Regions from separate parts of the Homo sapiens genome. Here region 1 is linked to region 2. The links are contacts of gene promoters, found by promoter capture Hi-C in blood cells and fetal thymus (Javierre and others, 2016). All regions are on one chromosome and are shown on one strand. The core of a region is centred on a gene start or on the middle of the fragment in contact, and the rest is flanking DNA. Distances in the headings are between cores, read along the strand shown. Region 1 holds the start of EIF3E (eukaryotic translation initiation factor 3 subunit E). Region 2 holds the start of SYBU (syntabulin).

The links. The method cuts DNA at HindIII sites, captures the fragments that hold promoters and counts their contacts. A CHiCAGO score of 5 or more calls a contact.
Region 1: a fragment that was not itself captured here is called in contact with the fragment with the promoter of SYBU in region 2 in 1 of 17 cell types (total B cells); the score reaches 6.1 in total B cells.

What each region holds. Positions count from the first base shown.
Region 1 is chr8:108,243,811-108,249,172 of GRCh38, forward strand. EIF3E (eukaryotic translation initiation factor 3 subunit E) reads right to left here and starts at 4,907. Exons shown (of 13, transcript NM_001568.3): 1 at 4,803-4,907. The coding sequence starts at 4,892. The HindIII fragment of the contact is 1,352 bases long and covers 663-2,014 here.
Region 2 is chr8:109,642,643-109,647,557 of GRCh38, forward strand. It overlaps SYBU (syntabulin), which reads right to left and starts at 2,180. Exons shown (of 7, transcript NM_001099754.2): 1 at 1,994-2,180; 2 at 86-290. The coding sequence starts at 2,017. It overlaps SYBU-AS1 (SYBU antisense RNA 1), which reads left to right and starts at 1,487. Exons shown (of 2, transcript NR_161375.1): 1 at 1,487-1,580; 2 at 2,476-4,915. RefSeq lists a silencer at 1,945-2,434 and enhancers at 1,947-2,883, 2,545-2,864. The HindIII fragment of the contact is 4,274 bases long and covers 623-4,896 here.

The sequences.
Region 1 (5,362 bases), core at 89-2,588, 1.4 Mb before region 2:
AAAAAACCTTAACTTCTCATCACTTTGCCCTATAGAAACACTAATCTTAAATAAAAACATTCTTTTCCAAGCACGCTACCTCTCCCCACTCCACTAGTAACTTTTAATTTGCCACGTCTCTCTCCACAATAGATTCAATAGCCTTGCTCCTCTACCATCAGGTGTTACTGTCCTGTTCTCAAATCTACATATGCCTCTCAATTCTGCCTCATAAGCAGAAAGCAAATACTTCAGACTTTGTATCAAGAAGCAACAATTGAAAATACTATATAAGTACTCACATGAAAAACGAGAATCAAATTTCCACAATTTTTTAAAAATTTTGAAACAGAAATAATAACAGTAAAAGTTTTTGTAATACAGGTCTATTAATAAGAATAGAATGCTTTTTCAAGAGAAATTATTTCACTTAATTGGGGTATAAAGTTAATATTCTATAATTGCTAATGTTTGCAAATGTTCCTCTGTTACAAACTATTCTTAGCCCCAAAACCACACAAAAACAGGCTGCTATCTGATTCCCAGGCTATAGTCTGCTGATCCGTCGTCTATCAACCTCTTGAAAACATATTACTTTTTAACAGATTAAGAATCTTTTTTTGCTGTCTCTTCCTCTGCTGTCATTCAACACAAATATAATGCCATACTGATGACTCTTTAAAAGCTTGAGCCCTAAAATTCCTTTATTCCTCAAATTATGACAATTTTCATCATGTATCTCATCTCCAAGAATTCCAACTTAAAACTGATAACCCCTCATCTCCAAGAATTCCAACTTAAAACTGATAACCCCTTCCACCATTACCATTAAAATCTTCATCATCTCAGACTTTCTGCCCTTTCTAATTTTTGTAATACCCTTTTTGATGTCACTTTCTGCCTTAGTTTGGATATCATTTTTAGCTATTTCAAAGATTTTCTCTTCAGTTCTATCATTGATTCTTTCAAACTAATTTCTCCAACTATATACAATTCAGTGTCAATCACTAACTCTGGAAAAAAAGTCACCTATTCTCTAGGTTCTGGCTAAGGATGACTACAAAATGTTTCAAAATTAGGGAATAATGTTATTCGATCACATCTGTGCTTCTCTAAATGGCATTTACATACAAGCCTACCCCTAAATATGTCTATACTACTCCCATAGCCTTCTACCGCTCCTCGCCCTGAGAATGACCCCATTATTAGCTCTAAGGTATGATTTCCAATCTCAGTTGGGCCCTCCACACTTAACCAATCCTTGTACTTTCCTTTGATCAGTTTCTTAGTAACCATTTCCAGTCCTTACCTTACTCCTCAAAACCCTCACTGCCCCCCCCTCCCATCCCATACCAATACAGAATGGGCTAGTCTTCCAAAATAAAAAACATTTAGAGCCAAGGGTGGTGGCTCATGTCTGTAATCCCAGCACTTTGCGAGGCCAAGGTGGCAGATCACTTGAGTTCAGGAGTTTGAGACCAGCCTGGGTAACATGGTGAAACCCCATCTCTACAAAAAATACAAAAAAAATCAGCCGGACATGGTGGCGCACACCTGTAGTCCCAGCTACTTCTGGGGCTGAGGTGGGAGAATTGCTTGAGCCCAGAAAGTCAGGGCTGTAATGAGCTAAGATTGTGCCACTGCACTCCAGCTTAGGTGACAAAGCGAGACCCTGTCTCAAAACACAAAACATTAAGGAGTACTCACTCTGTCCCAGAAGAGCGTAGTGTTTTATATGCATTATCTCATGTAATTTTTCTAACCCGATGAGATTGGTGGTAGTATTAACATTTTATTCATGAGAAAAGGTTAAGAGGGTAAAAGAATCTGCTCTGACTGCACAGAGGTATTAAATGACCGAGTCATGAAAGGTCCAATTCAGAGCCCAGGGTCCTAAATATTTCACTATCTGGCCTTCTGCTTCACATGAAAATAAAGAAGAGTGAGAAACAAGTATGTATTCATTCAATCATTTATTAAACAATCATAAAAAGCCTTTATGCCAGACTCATATTATGTGCTGAGAGCACAAGGAAGCTTCTGCTCTCATGAAGCTTATATTCTCCAATGTACTACAAATATATGAAACTGTTTTTCTCTTGGTGCAATGTAATAGTCTCCCCTTATCCATGAGCTAAATGTTCCAAGACCCCCCAGCGGCTGCTGCCTGAAACTGCAGATAGCCCCAATCCTATATTTACTGTTTTTTTCCTATACATGCATACCTATGATAAAGTTTAATTTATAAACTGGGAACAAGAGATGAACAATAACAAAATAGAACAATTAAGTTAGCATATACAGTGTGGATACATTGGACAAAAGGATGATTCATGTCCCAGTTTTAAGCAAGAGAGCGAGACAGATTTCATCCTACTACCCAGAAGGGCGAACAATTTAAAACTTACGAATTGCTAATTTCTGGAATTTTCCATTTAATATTTTTGGACCATGAGTAACTGGAACTGCAGAAATTGAAACTGCTAAGGGGGTGTGGGGGGGGGGGGCTGCTGTATCCTCACATAGCAGGATCACTGACTCTATTCTAACCATTTTGCCTTCAAGACTCAAAGCCTCACCTCCTCAAAGTCCTCTTTGCTCACTGAAGATAACAAAATCTCAATTTTGATAGCACTCTACCAGTACCTACCTCTTCGACATTTATTTTTACCTTATATCAAAAACATTCAACTCTAAAGGATAGGTAAGTTGTTTAGTGGTGAGATGTCTGGGTTTTATCTTGGATTTCTCAGTTATATGGCCCTATACAATTAACCCTTGGACGACAAGGGTTTGAACCACACAGGTCCACGTATACACAACTTTTTTTCAATAAAAGTTACACCAAGTGTGCCTGCCTTTCCTGACTTCCCATCCACTTCCTCTACTTCTTCCACCTCTGCTACCCCTGAAACAGCAAGACCAACCCCTCCTTTTACTCCTCCTCCTCAGCCTACTCAATATGAAGACAATGAAGACCTTCATGATGATGTACTTCCACTTACTAAAAAGTAAATGTATTTTCTCTTCCTTATAATTTAAGACCATTTTATTTTCTCTAGCTTACTTTATTGTAATAATACAGTATAGAACACATACAACACAGGACTGTCCATGTTCTCAGTAAGCCTTCCTGTCAGCATTAGGATATATTAAGTTTTGGGGGAGTCAAAACTTATAACGGATTTTTGACTGCGAGAGCTCAGCGTTCCTAACCCCTGTACTGTCCAAGAGTCAAATGTACTTAGAAATTGCTAATTAAATACTCCAGCATCTGTCTTCCTCTTGGTGTATTACAGCTATCTTACCAACATTTTCTCCAAAGAGGTGGGTATTGGGCAGTTTTTCCCACTGATTCTCAACTGCCTGCAGTTCATAGTTTTCGTCTAGCCCTATGAAAATCTAATTCACATTTACATATTCCTCCTTTCCTTCTGTGTGCCATAAAAAAAATGAAATTATAAAGAACACAAAAATATATAAAGTTCAGCTAGTTCAGAAGTACTTCTACAAGCAGCTGGTAAAGGCTTTCAAAATATAGCATTTTTACTAGATCTTTTGTCCTCACTTTTCCAGAAAAGAAAACAATGCAGATGCGAATGTTTTACTCAAGGTCTAAAATACAGGTGTAAAAAGAAGAATCAAAGCAAAAATATATCAAGAGAAAGTTTTACATGACAAGACATTCTTGGACATTTACTGAAAATGATCTTAGCCGTTACCTAACGTCAACAACTTTAGAGTTGTCTATGTTTAGAAAAGGTGCATATGAATATGAGGATTATACCTGTCTAACGAGCCACAACACCTGGACGCTGGTTTTTGGGACGTTTTTGTTTTATTGCTTTTTGTCTTTTGCTACACAAAATCCACTCCCCAAATCTAGAGTTCCCTAAGTAGACTTATATTGTAGTCTGCTTCCAGAAACAGAACTCACTTATTTTTCTGAAAAAATTCGAATTCCTTCATCACTGCAAATTACTTTGCATTATTAAAATGCATCAATTTCCCAATAAACTCACGGTATAACTAATGTCAATTTTCTTTTAGCCAAAACTTTCAAGTCCAATAAAACTTTTAGGACTGACATATGCTTTAAAATGAAGTTCCAGAATTACACATTTATTCATGATATCTTGAGTAGATAATTGAATATTAACGACCAATTCAAACCACATGAAGTCAGTACAATATATCCACTGGAAAACACATTTAAAGATTGGAGGGATTTTTTCTGGGGGGGGGGGCGGGGGAGCGCCGTCCCCATCTGACGAAATATGCTGTTCTAGAAAGTCCTACTTAACCAAGACAAGAAAACGCAAAGAACTCACAACTTCATGGAAATTAAAGCGCTAGATACTTATTTTAAGTGTAAGAGAATCACTCCAAAAGACTCGACATGCAAAAACCCACAGCCAAGCCCAGGCTTCCCACAGTTCCCAAAAGAAAAATCAAAAGCTCTAACAGCACTCCAGGTTGCTTTTACAAGCCAGCCTGTGAAGCTCTAACGTTCTCTAGCGAAACCAGCGAATCGCCAACTTCCGAGAAGAAATGATGCGAAAATCCCTCCCGCACTGACACCTCAGTAAGTGAAAGAGACTTCTTTTCTCTCTCCGTAACCTCCCTCCTCCTCACTGCCGAATAGTGCGGTGCTTCTTAACTGAGACGACGCTAAACTACCAGAAGATCCTTAGTGTCCGTCCAGGAACCAAACTCGCGACCGCCTCGCACGTGTCAGGCCTAGGACTACAGACACCACCTTTCGGCCTTGCTCAGCACCTCATCCGCCCCCACGCCTTCCTTGCGCCCAAAGACCCCCTCACCTCCTTTACAGAGAGAAATTCAAGAAGCGGAAAGACTAGATGCCGATCCAAAAAGTGCGCGATGCGAGTAGTCAAGTCGTACTCCGCCATCTTGCCAAAGAAAAGGGAGTCTGTGCTCACTAAAACTTTATTGGTAGCGCCGACAAACGAACAGACAGATCCTGTACTGCGCATGTGCTGTGGTAAAACTGGCCTAAAGAAAGGGGCGGGGTTTACCCTGGAGAGCAGAGGACAACGACGCATGCGCGCGGGTTGTCCCACCCTTTGCGTTAGGGCGCGAGTGACGGAAACAGATCCCTCTATTTGTAGGTTTGTCGGTATCCTCTTTCTAATGCTGGCCTTCGATTACCAGTCAGTGGCTTGCAGTCTATTCCGTTAATAACTATTGAAAGCTCAGAATTGATTGCTGAGGCAATGTGACTGCATTGGGATGCGGCAAAGGACAACATGAGGAGGCCCCTGCTTTCCAGGAAGTTACATACAGGGAAGAATATCTAGGCTTTTTCATTTGGCATACGCTAATCATTTTGTAAGCGATTGTTAAAGTGAGGGTGGGTTTT
Region 2 (4,915 bases), core at 930-3,429:
ATAAGGGACCCAGTATGGGCCCATTCACAATGCACCTGCAGTGCACACGCTTCACGCCTCTGGTGGCCTCCCGAGGGTACTGTACCTGAGCAGAAGCTGTTGCTGCTAACGGTCCTCGCTGAGCGCCCAGAGCTGCTGGGGTTGAACTCTCTGCTCTCTTCCTCAGAGAAAGGAGACTCAGAGGCTGGGGACACTTTGTGCTGTTGTTGGGGCATATGGGGCCGAAGAATCAACCGGGGAATTCGGCTTCGAGAAATCTCCTTGTCATGATGCTGCACTCTGTGCTCCTTCTCAAAATTGGACATCAAAAAAGAAAACAAAAGGAAACGCGTTTCCCTCTCTTAACTCCTGTCGGTTCCTTCAAGGATCAATTTCTAAGAAATCACATTTCTGAGTATTGAGTCTTCACAGAGTAGTCCTTCTTATCTCAGTTGCTGAAATGAGCTTCAAAACTCTTCCAATGAGTTAACCTTTCTAATCTACTGAATAGCACATGTCTGTGTGGCACACACACACACACACACACACACATATACACACCTCCACTCACTAGCTGGAAGGCCATCCTACTTCCCTATGCTGGTCCTGACTCACCTTCCCACCCTGACTTCTATCACATTCAAGCTTCTGCCTCCCAAAGGCTCTTTATTAACACCACACTCTGGCTTACTTGATAGCCTTCAGACTTCCATTTTGCTTTCCCTAAATTAGCTGTGACAGTCTGACTTGTTTTCTTGTCTCCTCACAAAGTTGAACCCTATACCTGGAACAGTTATTTCCTGATAGCTCACACACAATTATCTTTAAAATCCCTCCTCTTCTGGACAGGATCTTAATTATTCGTTAATATCCTGGTACACAAGGCTTGTTGCCAACAGAAAAGCAAACACAAATCCGATACTCGGGAAGATGGCTCCACCTTTTACATCATCTTTAATTTTTGTTTTCCTTACAGGACATCCATAAGAAGAGATTTTTCTTTCTCCTTAAAAACGCAGCATGAAGTACCCTGCCATTTCGTGGTTTTAAAAATGCGTAACAGTAATATTTTCACAATGTTTTCCAACTTATAAAGTGCTTTTCCAACCATTTTCTCATTTGATCTTTACACACCAGACTGTACATAGAGAGCACACCAATGAATGTCCCTATTTTCAGATGAGGAAACAGGCTAAATGGGGTAGAGATGCTTAGGCAATTCTGCACACCATGCCAGAAGTAGAACGAAATTCAAATCCAGTGCTTTGCAGGGTCACCACCACCCTGCCTTATGAAAATGGATTCCTAGGAGGAGCGTTTTGCAAAAATTCCACTGCTTCCTCCAACCTCTGCCACTGAAAGGGACTCTTTGGCTTAGGTAACAAACACCCTTTCGAAACATGACCTACTGTTCCTTCCACCGGCTTACCAGGAAGGGTCACGGCCAAAATAAACACCTCTGGGAGGCCGGCACATGGCATAAATTGAAGGGTAAACCTCAGCAATGGGGAACTTCGGAGGGCCCTCAGGCATCCACTCTACCCGGGGGCCGCCAGCCGCACGCAGCCTCGGATTCGCCCTGCACATCTGCCGCCCAGCAGGTACCATGCGCCAGCCACTCCGCCGGGCACACCGCAGACCCTGAGCTAAGGCAGGGTCACTGACACGCGGGAGTCCTCTTTTCCCAGTCGCGGATGCATCAAATTCCTTTCATTCACATCACACACACAGGATATCAACTGAAAGCTACACCCCACAGTCCCAGTTTCAGGAGGTGGGATTAACCCTCCAATCATGTCATTCTCCAAAATCTATTCCTCCAGTACCACCTCCCCATCTCCTGGATCTCAACTCCTAAGCAATGCCTCCTGCCTTCTCCAGACCCCACCACCACCTCCTTCCACCTTTCCCCAGACTCTAAATGTCACCCCTCCAGCTCTCATCCCGCCGCTTCTCGCCCCGCAGTGCCCGCCTTCCCCGCCCTCCAGTGCCCGCACTGCCCCGCGCTCCTTACCTTGCTCTCGCGGAGGGGCCCCATCGCGCCGCTGCCCGCCGGCTCCTCGCGCCGCCGCTGCCGCCGTCCAGGAGGAGGCACCTGCGAGCACGGAGCGAGGAGACTGCGCTGAGCCGGCGCGGGCTGCGGGCGGCGGCTCTTGGTGAGGCTCCAACGCGCCGCCGCCGCCACTGCCGCCGATTGCTCTGGGCTCCGAGGGCACGCCCGACCCCGCCCCGGCCGGACACGTGGTGCCGCACTCGCTAGAGGCAGCTCCTGGGGCGCCTCCCACGCCCTCCCTCACCTGCGGCCTTCGGGGCAACTCGACCGCGCCTGGGCGCGCCCCACCCGCCCGATTTCCCCACGGCACTCCGCGCCCCCCCAGCCAGAGCCGGTGTCCCTCCCTCTCCAAGGAGCTCGGCCCGGTGTAGGCAGGCTGCGGCTAGCGGCATCTCCAGCCCAGGGGTGACCCCACCCTCTTTTTTTTTTGCACTTGATCTCAGGTTTGAAGTGGGTGGCGTTGGATGGAGTGACTGAGAAAAGCTGCGACATCACAGAGAGACAAAATAGAGAAAGTTTTCCCCTGGCCACCCCTCCTTGGCCTCCAGGTCTTAAGTCAGCCTACAGCTCCCCACAACTGCCTCGCCCGAGAGCTGCAGAGATCCCTCTCGTACCGGAGCCCAGCCAAGCCAGTGCGTCAGGACCGACACAGCCTCTGGGTTCCGGGATCTGAAAGGCTGCGATGGATTCTACTTGGAAGGGGTTGCATCAGAAAGGCCTTCAGTGGTCAGCGCAGCTCCCTCCGGCTTGGAGAAGCCAGGCTGCTATGTAGCCAGAGAACAGTCTTTTCCCCAGCGCTGCCCTGCAGCTGCCCGGCTCCAGGAAGTAGCTCCAGCACACTGCTAAGGGAAGAGCACTGGAATTGAACTCAGAAAAACGAGTTCAAGCCAGCACTCCAATCGGTCCCTTCAGCCTGAGTGCCTTTATGCCTAAAGTTTTTGTTGTTGTTTCGTTTTTTGTTTTTTTTTTTTTCCGTTGCTGTTGAAACGGCATCTCGTTCTGTGGCCCAGGCTGTAGTACAGTGGCGCGATCAGGGCTCACTGCAACCTCTAACTCCTGGGATCAAGGGATCATCCCGTCCAGGCCTCTCAAAGTGCTCGAATTACATGCGGATGCCATTGCATGCGTGGCCTACGCCTACGGTTCTTGACCCTTCTGAACTTCAAATTTACCCTTGTTAAATTGAGGGATAATAATAGTGATACCTACCTCTAGGATAGCTGTGAGGGTTAGGTGAGGAAAACAAACAGCTCTATCCAGCTGATTGAACAGAACTTTCCAAAGGGCAGCTAAGTCAGGTCCAGATGATCCAGTCAATATTTGTTGATGCCTTTTACATGACAGGCAGAAAAAGCATTTGTGATGCACACAAATTTGTTTAAGAAAGCTCGAAAATCTGTCCAACTGGGGACTTAGAATAGGGTACATCAGCTGGGCCAAGGGCCTTGATTTATTACAATTGCTACCCTTAAATCTTATCTGGTGGTGGAATTCACCATGTATAATGACTTATATACCCTTTATTCAGAATTGGAGAATATTCCAAGCAGTGCGACACTCTGATCCTTATGCACCAGTGTCCTACATAGGAGGACTGTGCTCCTCGAAAACTGAGGGTCATTGTCCCCTTTCATCCATCCTCCAAACAGCATTTCTGAGTCCTCAACTCTCAAGCCTAAGAATATATGTTGTGAGTCTAGAGAGAGCCTGAAGCCAGAGGATTAGTGGAATCAATTTCCCTTCTTCCTATAACTCCAAAAGAGAGCTTCCTCCATAAATCTTCATGCCTTTTCAATCTACTTAGCTCTCTCAAGCAGTGAGGTTGGTAATTTTAAGATTCTTTATTTGGGAAGAAGAGGTGATTAATTCATACTTTCTACACCCACAGCTGTTTCAAATATGGACCTCAGGAAAGTGATGGTCCAGGATGATTCATACAACTTATTATTCCTAAAATTATGAGCCTGGGATCATATACTGTGAGATAAGAACAAACTTTTAAAGTTAATGGATGCTTCTGAGTTCCCTACTTAGAATTGAGAATTGACACTGGGGACCTAATAGCAGAAACACCCTCCACTGAGTTAGCCAAGTCAGAACCTCAGTGTCATCGTGGACTTTTTTCTCTCATTCACCTGACCCACACATAGCATAAACCACCAAGTGATCTCTATGCCACCCAAGTAATAACGGTCTTGAATCTGATTACTTCTGTCCACTATTTGTCTCCATTATCTTCGTGTAGAGTGTAAACCACAGTCACCCTAGATTATTGCAATAGTGGTCTAACTCAAGGTCTCTTGCTTTCAGCCTTGCCTCTTATTCCTTTCTCTCCGATCAGTGTCTCCATTTTTCCACAAGCCTTTATGAAAAGCTAAATCAAGTCATGCTTCTCCGTGAAAACTCATTAATGATTTCCTGATTGTCCTCCAGGTAATACTGAAACTCCTTAATGTGGCACACAAGGCTTTCCTGATCTGGCCGCCTTGTTTACCTCTCCGATCTCATTTCTTGCCACTCCTCTCTTTTGTAGATACTCCCTCCCCTCCCTAACCTGTCCCTTTGGTCCCTGCCACTCTTCCCTTACATACAAATGGATACTGCTCAAACTGTAGCACTTTCAGTTCTCGGAGGTGGAGGTTTTGTATTCTCTTTTTCGTCGAGACTGCTGCACCTGCCTCTGTTTAGAACATTTCTTGCACTACATCCACCTATCCTCCTCAACTCTTAAAGATACATTGTTTCATTTTAGACAGCTTCTTCCAGGAAACCTCCCCTGATGATTCCAGGACACTTATTTTTACCCCCAAGAGAGCTGTTATGATCTCCTCAGAATTCCCCATTTACTTGTTTGTTTTCACCAAAGCTTGTAGGCAGTGCCTA